5 separate regions of the Homo sapiens genome follow, and all the other regions are linked to region 3. The links are contacts of gene promoters, found by promoter capture Hi-C in human tissues and cell types (Jung and others, 2019). All regions are on one chromosome and are shown on one strand. The core of a region is centred on a gene start or on the middle of the fragment in contact, and the rest is flanking DNA. Distances in the headings are between cores, read along the strand shown.

What was found. The method cuts DNA at HindIII sites, captures the fragments that hold promoters and counts their contacts. A contact is called where the count stands out against the background at its distance.
Region 1: a contact is called between a fragment that was not itself captured here and the fragment with the promoter of ADNP2 in region 3, in 2 of the 25 tissues and cell types used here (IMR-90 fibroblasts and lymphoblastoid cells).
Region 2: a contact is called between a fragment that was not itself captured here and the fragment with the promoter of ADNP2 in region 3, in 2 of the 25 tissues and cell types used here (lymphoblastoid cells and spleen).
Region 4: a contact is called between a fragment that was not itself captured here and the fragment with the promoter of ADNP2 in region 3, in 2 of the 25 tissues and cell types used here (dorsolateral prefrontal cortex and lymphoblastoid cells).
Region 5: a contact is called between a fragment that was not itself captured here and the fragment with the promoter of ADNP2 in region 3, in 3 of the 25 tissues and cell types used here (H1 embryonic stem cells, IMR-90 fibroblasts and lymphoblastoid cells).

The regions. Positions count from the first base shown.
Region 1 is chr18:79,845,462-79,848,161 of GRCh38, reverse strand. All of the region lies in intron 1 of KCNG2 (potassium voltage-gated channel modifier subfamily G member 2), which reads right to left. Among named protein-coding and RNA genes, the nearest start is that of KCNG2, 49 kb to the right of the region's middle. The HindIII fragment of the contact is 7,338 bases long and covers 1-2,700 here.
Region 2 is chr18:79,690,877-79,693,576 of GRCh38, reverse strand. All of the region lies in intron 1 of CTDP1 (CTD phosphatase subunit 1), which reads right to left. Among named protein-coding and RNA genes, the nearest start is that of CTDP1, 12 kb to the right of the region's middle. The HindIII fragment of the contact is 5,479 bases long and covers 1-2,700 here.
Region 3 is chr18:80,107,901-80,110,663 of GRCh38, reverse strand. ADNP2 (ADNP homeobox 2) reads right to left here and starts at 1,402. Exons shown (of 4, transcript NM_014913.4): 1 at 1,192-1,402. RefSeq lists silencers at 881-980, 1,181-1,340 and enhancers at 1,150-1,651, 2,478-2,763. The HindIII fragment of the contact is 8,526 bases long and covers 1-2,763 here.
Region 4 is chr18:79,777,685-79,780,425 of GRCh38, reverse strand. No RefSeq gene overlaps it. Among named protein-coding and RNA genes, the nearest start is that of KCNG2, 19 kb to the left of the region's middle. The HindIII fragment of the contact is 6,456 bases long and covers 1-2,741 here.
Region 5 is chr18:79,743,965-79,746,664 of GRCh38, reverse strand. All of the region lies in intron 12 of CTDP1 (CTD phosphatase subunit 1), which reads right to left. Among named protein-coding and RNA genes, the nearest start is that of KCNG2, 53 kb to the left of the region's middle. The HindIII fragment of the contact is 5,894 bases long and covers 1-2,700 here.

The DNA of each region.
Region 1 (2,700 bases), core at 126-2,625, 260 kb after region 3:
TTCATCACTGGCCCCTGGCAGCTGCTGAGCCCACGCTAGGGTTTCAGACATTCTGCCTTCACCGGGAGAAGCTCTGCAAGTTCGCTGTGCTCAGGGCCCCAGGTCAGGGTCCATGCACCGCACCCCATCCCTCACTCCCTGTTTGCCCAGGATTCCCCCCTGCCAATCCACTCCTTCAGTCCCAAGGAAAACAGTGACTATTTTGTTTAAATCTGGCTAAATACACATACATAAATGAAATGGACTCTCAAGCAGTTTAAATTAAATTGTGGCTTAACTGGACCACAAGTTTAGTGCCTCGGGCATTGTGTCACCACCATCCCTGATCATGAGCCCGGCCCAGGGGACACGTGGCCCCACTGCCGCCAGCAAGCCAGGTGCCAGCCTCCAGGATGCCAGAGCAAGTGCGGTTCTACATGCAACATGAGTGTGTGTCACCGGGAAAAGCTGCAACTGCCACTACCCAGAGTATCAGGATTTTTCAAATGTAATCAATAAGGAGAAGTCACTGGGATATAATAATATTTACCATTCTGAGTTAAAATTAGAATCTCTGTACATGCTTATTACATACATGGATGAGGGCTCATGGGGCGGGTGCTTTGCAGTTAGTGGGGCTGTTAATCTACATGAGCAAGACCCACCAAGGCTTCCACAGGGAGCGTGGTCCGCACTGCCGGGTAAAGATCGCTTAGCGTGGTTTCCAGACCAGGGCTTCTCGACTGGGATCCACTGCGACCCTCAGTTCCCACGGGGCACCTGGCAATGTCCAGGTTTTGATTGTCTTGACTGGGGATGCTCCTGGCATGGAGGCATGGAGGCCAGGGATACTGTTCAACACCCACAGTGCCCAGGATGGCTCCCAGCAAAGCTATCCGACCCCAAACGTCCACAGTTCCAGACGGAGAAGCCCCACATCCCAAGGCACCTGGGGGACCTTGTACGAGGCCAGGAGGGCTGACATCCGAGGAGGAGCAAAGCAAGGAGGAAGCTCAGAGGATTTTTCACTGAAGCTCAGAAGCCAACTGTTCAGGACTTAAAGCATTTGTCATGCAGTAGATGTTGCCAGATAATCCAGCCATTGCAGATAAATGCTTTCATCAGCCGCTGCCTGCCTCTGTTCTGGCATCTTCACAAATTTGGTTCAGGTGTCACTTACCTTCCCCATGTCTTCTTACCACCGGCTGCCCTGTGGCCAAACGAGTTCGTTTGCAGGAAATGAGACCCTTGCGACCTACACACACCTTTCAGGAAGACTATTCTAGGCTCCTCAGTGGGGCCTTCATCCAGATGCACACTTTGCCTTTCAGCTGGAACTGTTAACCTCGGCGGTGACACGGGTTCACAAACAGGGCCATGCGACAACTGGAAAAACCATCTAAACAAGATGACTTCTTCAACCAATCAGTGAGCATACGACTGCAGCTGAGAACTGTCTAAAATACAATGTATCTAACTTCAGTTCCAGGCTAATATTTAGTGTGCCAATGAATTTTTTATTTTTCAATTCTTACTTGTCCTATCAAGAAAAACATTAGATGAATTAAGACTATAATCACCCATGGGTTAAAAAAAGCCAAACATAAATAATTTTGAATAAAATATGACTCAGGAGATTTTTGTTGTAAACTAAAGATGAGTAATATTAGCATCATTCCTGTAATCTCTTTCTGATACACATATGAGTTCACATGTGAGTCTCAACTATTTTGATTTGAAATACTTTTATTTTCTTTCTTTTTTTTTTCTGAGACAGAGTCTCACTCTTTTTTTTTTTTTTTTTTTTTGAGACGGAGTCTCGCTCTGTTGCCCAGGCTGGACTGCAGTGGCACACGATCTCAGCTCACTGCAAGCTCCACCTCCCAAGTTCACGCCATTCTCCTGCCTCAGCCTCCCAAGTAGCTGGGACTACAGGCGCCCGCCACCACGCCTGGCCAATTTTTTGTATTTTTTAGTAGAGACAGGGTTTCACCATGTTCGCCAGGATGGTCTTGATCTCCTGACCTTGTGATCCACCTGCCTCGGCCTCCCAAAGTGCTGGGATTACAGGCGTGAGCCACCGCGCCCAGCCAAGACAGAGTCTCACTCTTTCGCCCAGGCTGGAGTGCAGTGGCGCCATCTCAGGTCACTGCAAGCTCCACCTCCTGGGTTCACGCCATTCTCCTGCCTCAGCCTCCCGAGTAGCTGGGACTACAGGGGCCCGCCACTACGCCTGGCTAATTTTTTCTTTGTATTTTTTAGTAGAGACGGGGTTTCACTGTATTAGCCAGGATGATCTCAATCTCCTGACCTCATGATCCGCCTGCCTCGGCCTCCCAAAGTGCTGGGATTACAGGCGTGAGCCACTGCGCCCAGCCACTTTTATTTTCTATATGCCAAAGTTCCATAAATTATAAAGGGGTTTTATTTTTCATAAATACACACGTGTATAAAATGAAGTATATAAGATCTAATTAGCAAGGTTTTGGTTCTGTTCAGAAGAGAACTTGCTAATGAGATCCATTTTTAGCCATGTTTTTGACTGAGAAATTGACAATTATTTTTCAATTATGATTTATGGGACACAATCTCCAAGTCTATAATACACATAGAAATTTGGTAATTAATAACTCTTATCCACAAAGCAGGGTATGTACAGTACAGCTGCATATAATTGCTCCAAAAAGTTTCAAAATCAAATTTTGAGGTAATTGCAGATTC
Region 2 (2,700 bases), core at 45-2,544, 420 kb after region 3:
CGTCCCATCCCCAAGACATCTCGTCATGTATACGTGCAAATATTCCAAAATCCAAAAAAACCCAGAAATCCAAAACACTTCTGTTTCCAAGCAGTTTGGATATGGGAGACTCAACCTGTATCAGGTTTTTTTCTTAAACCAGACAACAAAATAGTGACACCTTGTTTGAAAAAGTGTGTTAAACTTTCTAAGGTGACAAGTATGATTTCCTTAATTTTATCAAAATACTTTACAATGAATGATTAGAGTTCTGCCCTAAAATGCCCCAATGAGCAGAGACTTAACCTAAAAACCCAATCTCTGAAAAAAAACAAAAACAAAAACAAAAAAAACGCACAAACCCCACACTGGACCATCCTCCCTCCCGGTCACCACACCTGCTCAAAGACACTGCCAGGCTTCACAGGCCTCAGGGACACCTGCTCCCTGCTTGCTGAGGCCACAGGGGCCATCCCCGCCCAGGAGTCTGTGTCCCTACCGCCATCGCACTCGGGGCCTCCACATCCAGGCTCCTCTCCGATGCCTGGCAGCCCCCAACTCCCCGGCTGAGCTGTTTTCGTCCATCCACAGGGCTCTGCGGCCCCACCGCCAACACCCAAACCCAGTCCTCCCAATGGCCCCACGTCCTTTCCCTGGGCACTGCTCCCCCAGTCCTGGCAGCAACCCCACTTGGGAGCCCCAGCCCCTCTAACAGGCTTCCCTGGTCTCCAGCTGACATCATTTTGCAATCAGCCTTCTGCAAGGAAACTCTGCACAGCTCCTGCCCCACACAGGACACCAGCTCATGGCAGGCTCCTCATTCTACCCCCTGCCCCACACAGGACACCAGCTCACGGCGGGTTCCTTGCTCTACCCTCTGCCCCACGCAGGACACCAGCTCACGGCGGGCTCCTCGCTCTACCCCCTGCCCCATGCAAGACACCAGCTCACCGCGGGCTCCTCCTTGCTCTACCCCCTGCAAGGGGAAGAGAGGGAAAGGAATCCTCAAATATGAACTAGGAGGATTTTGCCAATCTCTCCTAAACATGTTAACATGAAGAAGGATCTGGGGTGGCTCTAGTTTAACCAATAAACAGGTGTTTTTTTGTAGAAATTGACAAGTTGCTTCTGAAATTTATATGGAAGTTCAGAAAACCTAGAATCTCAATTTTCAAAAATAACAGAGAACTTTTACTACCTGACTTCAGAACTTATCAGGCATACAACATAAACGCATGGAACAGAGGAGTCCAGAAAGACTCAAAGGTATGACCGACAGACGACCCACCAAGGTGCCCAGAAAACTCCATGGCGGGCGGGGGGCACCTTCCAGCCAGTGGGGCTTCACACAAATGGATCAACGGCTGACAAACGCCTGCAGAGTGTGTTCTGCAAAGGTTTTCTCCACTGTTCCCCACCCGGAGTCCACCCTGGGAGCCGTCCACTCCTCCCCACCCCGAGTCCACCCTGGGAGCCGTCCACTCTTCTCCCACCCCGAGTCCACCCTGGGAGCCGTCCACTCCTCCCCACCCCGAGTCCACCCTGGGAGCCGTCCACTCCTCCCCACCCCGAGTCCACCCTGGGAGCCGTCCACTCCTCCCCCACCCCGAGTCCACCCTGGGAGCCGTCCACTCCTCCCCCACCCCGAGTCCACCCTGGGAGCCGTCCACTCCTCCCCCACCCCAAGTCCACCCTGGGAGCCGTCCACTCCTCCCCCACCCCGAGTCCACCCTGGGAGCCGTCCACTCCTCCCCACCCCGAGTCCACCCTGGGAGCCGTCCACTCTTCTCCCACCCCGAGTCCACCCTGGGAGCCGTCCACTCCTCCCCACCCCGAGTCCACCCTGGGAGCCGTCCACTCCTCCCCCACCCCGAGTCCACCCTGGGAGCCGTCCACTCCTCCCCCACCCCGAGTCCACCCTGGGAGCCGTCCACTCCTCCCCACCCCGAGTCCACCCTGGGAGCCGTCCACTCCTCCCCACCCCGAGTCCACCCTGGGAGCCGTCCACTCCTCCCCCACCCCGAGTCCACCCTGGGAGCCGTCCACTCCTCCCCCACCCCGAGTCCACCCTGGGAGCCGTCCACTCCTCCCCACCCCGAGTCCACCCTGGGAGCTGTCCACTGTTCCCCAGCCCGAGTCCTGCCTGGGAAGCTGTGTGACCCGTCGCACATTGACACTAGGCTGCCACAAAGGACGGGGGCCTCCTGCTCCAAGGAAGGGCTGGTAGCAAGCCCAGGTGCCACCTGCCTTCCCCAGCACAGGTCTAAGAGCGAGTGTAAGCTGGCCCTGCTTCCCACAAACAGCCTCCCTTGGGCCACCAGCGCAGCCTGAGGTCTGAAGAAAGTTGACTATAAGCTGAGTCGGGTGCGCACTGCCTGCTGTCACCAACAGTGTAATACGAGTCAGACGAGAGCGACTGCAAGACGGAGGTGCCACCGGCAGATGACTACAGCAGATGCCTAGTTCTACACGAGGAAGGAAGCTTCTAGAACAGTGTCACAGCAGCTGTAACAGCTGGGTCTTGACAGACGAGTAGGAAGCAGGTGAGGGCTGGAAATGGCAACCACGCAAGGTCCCGGTGGCAGAGACAAGGCCGGCTCCTGACGCCAAGGGCACCTGCGCCCAGTGCACGCAGGCAGCACTCCGCAGGCTTCCAGCAACGTGACCAAACACAGGCCTTCGTAGAAAATCACTCGCATACTGGCCACGTCGGAGTCACGT
Region 3 (2,763 bases), core at 153-2,652:
AAGTTACACATACATTACCGACTTCCAAATACAGCTGAACATGTACTTTACACAACTCTTTTTACATGTGGTCCTCTCTCCCACTAATGCTCCTCACCCCCAAAAATGGTACCCAGACTCCAAACCCCCTCTTTTGATAAAGGCTCTGCGTGGCAGATGCCCACAGTACTCTACAAACTGCTGCCCCACTTGCCAATCTGCATTGTCAGTTACCTGCTTACCAGTTTCTCCTCCCCCACCCCACTCCTCCACAGCCAGTATATTCCTCAAGATCCCAAGAGGCAGTGATTACCCGTGCAAATAGAGTAAGTTTTAAGCACGCAGGCAAGTCTTCTGTTCAAATAAACTACTTAAAATATCTAATTATTTCTCATTCTGCATCTGTACAGTATTTAAAAGGGCAGTTAAAATTAACATTCCAAAGTCAACTGTAGTAGAAATTTTGTAAACGGAATCTATTTCAATGCAACCAGCAACGGCAGATGAAAAGTAATGTTAAAGTCAACATCTGTATATCAATTATTGATATTCGCATCAAAAGCTCAACGATGAAGAAACAGGGCCCCGTTATCAGCTGTTCTTCAAACCTTTCTAGGGAAAAAAAAACCTGGGCAGATTTAGGTGTCACCGTCAGCTCCTGACCTACATCTGCCGTCACTCAAGGCTCCTCCAGAGAGAAGCTTCCAGGAGAACCCGGTCTCGGGGATGCGGCGGGCGGGCCAGCGGGCGGGGCGTTTCTGGAGTCCTTACAGGGGTCGCCACAGCTCCTTGCCCCCTCTCTTCTTCTCCATCCCCGTTCCCTCTCCCTCTACTCCTCGCTCCCTTCACCAGCCCCCCTCTCTCCCTCGGTCCCCGTCCTCGTCTTTCCCCTATTCCTACTCTCCCCTCAGGTCCCCATCCCCTTCTCCGCCCTCCCGGGGCGGCCCCCGCTCCCACGTGACCGGCGGCGGGCGGGGCGGGCCGCGGGCGCGTCGGGGGTCGACGGGCGCCGTTCGGGCCGCGAACCCGCGCCCTGAGAACGTCCCGGGATTCCCGAGGCGGCCACGGGCGGCGCGAGGGCAGGCGGCGGGCGTGGGTGTGGGCTGGGTACCGGCGGGGGCGGGGCTCGGAGGGGACCAGACTGGGGCGGGGGCCAGGACCGGGGCAGGGGGCGTCGCCGCGCGGGCCCGCGCCGGGCCGGGCCGTACCTACCGCTTGGCGCCCGAGGAGCACCGCGTCTCCGCTGCTGCCTCTCGCAGGGCTGCCGCGTCTTCCGCCGAGCGCAGCCGCGTCCCGTGGGGCCGCCTGCGCCCGCCCGCGCCTCCGCCCCGCGCGGCGGGACCCCCGCCTCAGCGCGCGCCCACCCCCAGCGCGACTGGTCCCCTCCTCCCGCGCAGCCAGAAAGAGAAAATGGCGCTCGATTGGCCTCAGGAAGTGACGTTGGCCCTCATTTGCATGTAGGCGCAGCCAGCCAATGAGAGCAGAGTGTGCTTGGGGGCCCCTGGCACTTCCCACAGGCCCCCCGGGGCCCCTGGCTAAAGATGGACTGGAGGCTCTGGGGTGGCAGTGGGGGGCCCCTGTTGGACCCCCTGACTCCCTTCTGTCCCAGGGAACTGCCCTGCCAGCTCCTTTCCACATCTGTGCAAACTCTCGTGAGAGTTTGAGTGGGCAATGACGTCACTAAAGGGGTGGGGAGAGTGTGTCATCAACCATGTGACTAATCACGTGGACTCACCACAGCTTTGACTTCATTTGCATGGAATGGGGTGGAGCTAGTGGCAGCTCCAGGAGTGGTGACCCCGCCCACATCTCAGAGCCAATGGGAGCCCAACTGTGATAATGCTGCCTTGCCATTGGAAGACAAAACTTTGGCTCCCAGAACTGGGACAAGTGTGCCATGATTGGCATATCCTGGTGAACCGACTAGCTGGGGTCTCCTGACTTCATCATTCCTGTGGGAAAGTGATCACACCTTCTCTTGAGAATTCTGATTTTTAGATCTACTACAAGTTGTGTGGGGAGAGGGTTAATTGCATACATTTGTATAAACTCTTAACCTAAAAGTTCATTTTTGCACAGGTGTTTATCAATTGTGTAGCAATAATAATTTATTCCACAAAATTAGTGGAAACATGGCGTAGGGCTTTCAAAATGGCTCTAGGTCTTCGTTCCGTGGAGTCCCCAGGCCTCTGGCGGACGCCCTCGTGCCCCAGAGCACGTGGGAGTAACCACGAGGGCAGCGCAGGCGCCTCCCCCAGTGCCCCTAACCTTAACCCTAATTCTGACCCTGCACCTGAACCTCACCTAGCACTAACCCTGACTCTGACCCTAACTCCCCTCCAGTGTTCCTTCCCCTGACCCTAACTCAGCCGCGCCCTCAGTGGCTGTTCCAGGCAGTTCCTTCTTGGCGAAGCCGTCTGCAGGACACGTGCCCCTTTCAGCACAAGGCCACGTCTCCTTCCAGAGCGCCGAGCCCCTGCAACCCGCCGCCAGCCTCCAGCCCTGAGGCCCACTCCAGCCACCGCGGGGCAGAGGCCGTGCCCAGGCTGGGCCTTCCGCCCACCGCCCTCTCCAGAGCCTCCTTGTCACCATCCGCTCGTCCATAATTTCAGCTTTTCCCTCTCAATGGGAGCCTTCTGCTCAGTTTAGCCCAGTGACTAAACACATAATAGGCACTAAATTAATGTCCATATTCGTTTTAAAACTGTGTTAAATGGTGGGCCGATATGACCTGACCAAAATTTGCTTTTTTCCTACATGAATACAAGTCATAATTGAAGTAGA
Region 4 (2,741 bases), core at 12-2,511, 330 kb after region 3:
TAAGATGCAGGAAGCAAAGTCCTGGCTGGACCAGGGCGGACAGTGTGCACCCGGCCAGCACTGATGTTCACAGGGCAGCCTCTGGAGGGTGAGGTCAGCAGGGTCTAAGATGCAGGAAGCAAAGTCCTGGCTGGTCCAGGGCGGACAGTGTGCACCCGGCCAGCACTGATGTTCACAGGGCAGCCTCTGGAGGGTGAGGTCAGCAGGGTCTAAGATGCAGGAAGCAAAGTCCTGGCTGGACCAGGGCGGACAGTGTGCACCCGGCCAGCACTGATGTTCACAGGGGTCGCTGCTTCTTCCTCACCAAGGCTGGATCTGGGGTGCTCCTTCCCAATCCTCTGGCTTCTTCAGTGCCCAGAGCTGAGTCCTCTCAGGCCACGGCCAGTGTCTGTGCTTGGCCTTCCCAGACGGCCTCTGGCTCCGGATTCTGGTGCCAGGTCAGGGCGGGCCCGCCCACACTTTGCACAGGTGACCCCTTCCTTTTGTAAAGACCCACTTGGATTTCCTCTCCTGTGCGTCCCCTCCGACCTCCGGCCTCCGACCTCCCAGTCTGGGCCTGTGTGCGGGGGAGTGACGTCAGTTATTTTTCTTGCCCTAAACCGCCCTTCTCATAGGACCAGCACCTCCCTTTGGAAATCACTTCTTCTCCATCAAACCACACGTTTTCAGTGGCAGAGGACTGTGATTGGCCCAAGGATGGCTGACAAAGGCTTTTAAACCACGGCGGAGGCTGAGGCCCCGGGCTTTGGAGTCTGTGCAGGGACCTGACAACGTGCACTCCATGATGGAGTCTTCCGATGGCCACACTGCCTTGCGCGCCCCTGGGGGGCTCGTGGGCGGTGTGCGTTGGGTGATGACCAGGCAGATGCTTCCGTTTGGGGCCAGGGGCTCGGCCAGGCCGGCAGGGCGGCTGCTGGCTGCAGGCATTCTGCAACGTGGGCGCTGTTCCAGAGGGCTTTACTGTTGAAGGGGGTGTGGGCTGTTGCAACCCACCCACAGCACTTTTCTCAAGAGTTGTGAGAACTCGAAATTAAGCCACACACGTATTTTCAGAGCCCATGGCGAGTGATCGGCCCACCGACCCCACGTGACTGAACGGGAGAATGGCTGGGAACGTGTCATCCTGTTTTCCTCCAAGCCGAGGGGGATGTGGATCTCTTAAGACAACAACCACTCCGCACGCTGCACGTGGGGCCGGGTCCAGGAATAATCTTTTAAAAGGCACATATGTATTTATAATGTAATATATGCAAACAAATTTAAGTTCCTATGCGCGTGGGTGTCATATTTGTATCTTTTTCTGTTGCTGAAATGGAAAACCACAGCTAAATACATACATCTGTAGCTTATGCTGTCTTCAGCATACACCTTTTTTTAATACCTGATCTCTTTGACATACTTCACATAACAGATTTTTTAAAGACAACGAACTTTGGAACAAGAACCCCTTATTGTTACTCTGTGTGCTGTTCTGATGAAGGTCCTCAGGTTTTCTTCTCTCTCTTTACCTTCTGTTCTCAGACAGCTCCTGGGAGCTGCAGCCCTGAGGAGGCTTTATCTCTGGACACTTGTTTTTGCACTGGGGGGTCCGGGGCCGCCCCACCCCTCACTGTCTGACTAAACCACACAGAAGGTTAAGCAGCAAATTCGAGGCTCCCTCCTCAGAGATGCCTTTTTAAGAAAGACCCAGTGTACTCAGGCTGAGATCAGAGCCCCTGGGCCAGGCGGCCGCGAGTGCTTCTTGGAGCCGGTGAGCACAGACTTGGCGTCGTGAGATCGTGGAGCAGGCCTCTCCCTCTGCATCGGGGCTCAGGGCTCAGCAGGGACAGGGAGCACACAGCGGCTCCCCGCACGGCAGCAGGGCAACCACGACGACTCCAGTGCAGAGAGCGTGGCCTCGGCCTCAGCCTCCGGCCCCTGCACGGCCTGTCAGCTGTGTGGACTCCTAGTCATGTAAGAGTTGGAGAGTCAGGAATCCGGGAAGAAGAGCTCACGCCCCCTGCCCTCCTCTGGGCAGACCTGGAGCTGCTAATGCTTCAACATGCTCGTGCCTCAAGGGAGCACCACCCCGGCCTCGGCAGTGATGAGGCTGCCCAGCCGCACGGGGAGGCCACGGACCAGAGGTCACAGAGGGCAAGGCTGTGGCGAGCAGGAGAAATGAGAACCACCTGGGGCAGGAGTTTCTCAAATCAGGAAGGGACAGGAGCATGGAGGAAGAAGAGCGGGAACTTGCAGAAAAAGAACCAAAGACAGACACAGCTGCAGACAGGTTTCGCCTCTGCATGCAGGTGCACAGCCTTTTCATTCCTGTCTTCATATTAAATATCGTTTTCCCAGGCTATCCAACCCAGAGGACAGCTAACACCCGAATGTGAACGGCTGTGCAGTGTGAGGCTCACCTACACGGCACAGACCCCACCAACACTCCCCAAAATATCCACCACTCTCGGAAGTCTACAAGTCCCACTTGAATTTTTTTAGATAACCTCATTTCCTGCTGCCTTCCCAACTGTGTGGGAGCCATTCAATACGATGGCTGTCACCGTCCTCCAGGACAGTCCTCCACCCTAGAGCTGTCTCAACCCTCCAGGACAGTCCTCCATCCTAGAGCTGTCTCAATCCTTCAGCACAGTCCTCCACCCTAGAGCTGTCTCCATCCTCCATGACAGTCCTCCACCCTAGAGCTGTCTCCATCCTCCAGGACAGTCCTCCACCCTAGAGCTGTCTCCATCCTCCATGAC
Region 5 (2,700 bases), core at 59-2,558, 360 kb after region 3:
AGCCCAGGCAACAGAGTGAGACCTTGTTTCTTAAGCCCCTAAGTATGGGGTGGGCAAGGCAGGGCCTCCTGACCTGTTCACAGTGACAGCAGTTGTCAAAACGCTCTCACTTTTCCAAGAGATGCAGTTTGTGTAGCTATGAAAACACGAAAAAGCAAACTTTCACAAACCAAAACTCCGCGTGCTATGTGAAGGGAGAACGAACACAACCTCCACCTCCGACACCCTCGAGTGGCAAACCCTGAAGAGACCGCAGAGTCAGAACACGCATGGGAGGGACGCACGGACAGAACGCGCATGGGAGGGACGCAGGGTCAGAACGCGCACGGGAGGGACGCGGGGACAGAACGCGCACGGGAGGGACGCAGGGACAGAACGCGCACGGGAGGGACGCGGGCACAGAACGCGCACGGGAGGGACGCGGGGTCAGAACGCGCACGGGAGGGACGCGGGGACAGAACCCGCACGGGAGGGACGCGGGGACAGAACGCGCACGGGAGGGACGCGGGGACAGAACGCGCACGGGAGGGACGCGGGGACAGAACGCGCACGGGAGGGACGCGGGGACAGAACGCGCACGGGAGGGACGCGGGCACAGAACGCGCACGGGAGGGACGCGGGCACAGAACGCGCACGGGAGGGACGCGGGCACAGAACGCGCACGGGAGGGACGCGGGCACAGAACGCGCACGGGAGGGACGCGGGCACAGAACGCGCACGGGAGGGACGCGGGCACAGAACGCGCACGGGAGGGACGCGGGGACAGAACGCGCACGGGAGGGACGCGGGGACAGAACCCGCACGGGAGGGACGCGGGGACAGAACGCGCACGGGAGGGACGCGGGGACAGAACGCGCACGGGAGGGACGCGGGGACAGAACGCGCACGGGAGGGACGCGGGGACAGAACGCGCACGGGAGGGACGCGGGCACAGAACGCGCACGGGAGGGACGCGGGCACAGAACGCGCACGGGAGGGACGCGGGCACAGAACGCGCACGGGAGGGACGCGGGCACAGAACGCGCACGGGAGGGACGCGGGCACAGAACGCGCACGGGAGGGACGCGGGCACAGAACGCGCACGGGAGGGACGCGGGGACAGAACGCGCACGGGAGGGACGCGGGGACAGAACCCGCACGGGAGGGACGCGGGGACAGAACGCGCACGGGAGGGACGCGGGGACAGAACGCGCACGGGAGGGACGCGGGGACAGAACGCGCACGGGAGGGACGCGGGGACAGAACGCGCACGGGAGGGACGCGGGGACAGAACGCGCACGGGAGGGACGCGGGCACAGAACGCGCACGGGAGGGACGCGGGCACAGAACGCGCACGGGAGGGACGCAGGGACAGAACGCGCACGGGAGGGACGCAGGGACAGAACGCGCACGGGAGGGACGCAGGGACAGAACGCGCATGGGAGGGACGCACAATCCAGTCAAACACGTATGTGTGCTGACCACTCATCTTCCCCACAAAAATTATCCATGCCACAGTCATTACAACTGCTTTGGAAAAGCCTGAAACTCACATGAACTTACATGTCGTGGGGACACCTCCTAATCCCAGGAGCACCTTCTGATTCCCCACCCCACTCTCAGGACCCACAAGTCTTTCCCATGGAGTGGCCTGGTACCCCTGCTGAGAGCCAGCTGGCCATGGACATGGGGCTGTTCTGGGATGGACACTCCTGCTCCACGGCCCAGCACACTGTCATCACACCAGCCTCCGTTACTCTGAAGCACGATGTGCGTCCTCTGGCCTGCTCTTCCTCAAGACCCTCCAGGGTCTCCTGCGTTCCTGTAAGAGCTTCAGGACTGGTCTGTGGCCCCTCCAGGGGCAGCATCCTCCCACGACGCCCCCCATGACTGAGTGGCGGGGGAACCTCCAAGGTCTCGCCATGGCCGCCTCTCCCTTTGCTTGTCAGTTTCTGCCACTGGTGAGTTGGTTCTCACTTCCGGTGCACATGTGCTAGCAACTGTCACTCTTCCCGATGGATCCAGCTCTTAGCATCGTAATTCCATCCGTTATCATTATAAAGCGTCCTTCTTTACCTGTAGAAGCATTCTTTGTTTAAATTCAGTCTTCTCTGATATTAGCGGAACACTCCAGCTTTCCTACGGTGATGGCCTCTGACCCAGTTGTCCATCCACTCATAGTTAAAGCTCTGAATCCCCTCACGTTCACACCGCCACTCTGCTTTGTTTCTCATGCCTCATGTAGTTTTAGTTCCTGTCTTCCCTTTTCTGTTTTCTTTTGCATTAAGTGAATACTGTCTAATGTAACATTTTGGTTCCTTTTGTGAACTCCAAGTATCTGTGTCAGGTCTCACTTAACTTAAAAAGTTTATTTTGCCAAGGTTGGGGTCACCTGCCTGTGACACGGCCTCAGGAGGGCCTGACATGTGCCTGAGGTGGTCGGGGCACGGCTCTGTTTTACACATTTTAGGGAGACATGAGACATGAAAGAACATATGTAAGATGAACACTGGTTCACTCTGGAAAGGTGGGACAGCTGGAACCAGGGAGGGACTTCCAGGTCACAGGTAGACAAGAGACAAATGGCTGCATCCTCCTGAGTTTCTGATCAGCCTCTCCAAAGGAGGCCATCAGATCTGCACCTGTCTCAGTGAGCAGAAGGTGGCTTTGGATAGAATGGGTGGCGGGTTTGCCCTGAGCTGCATCTGTCTCAGTGAGCGG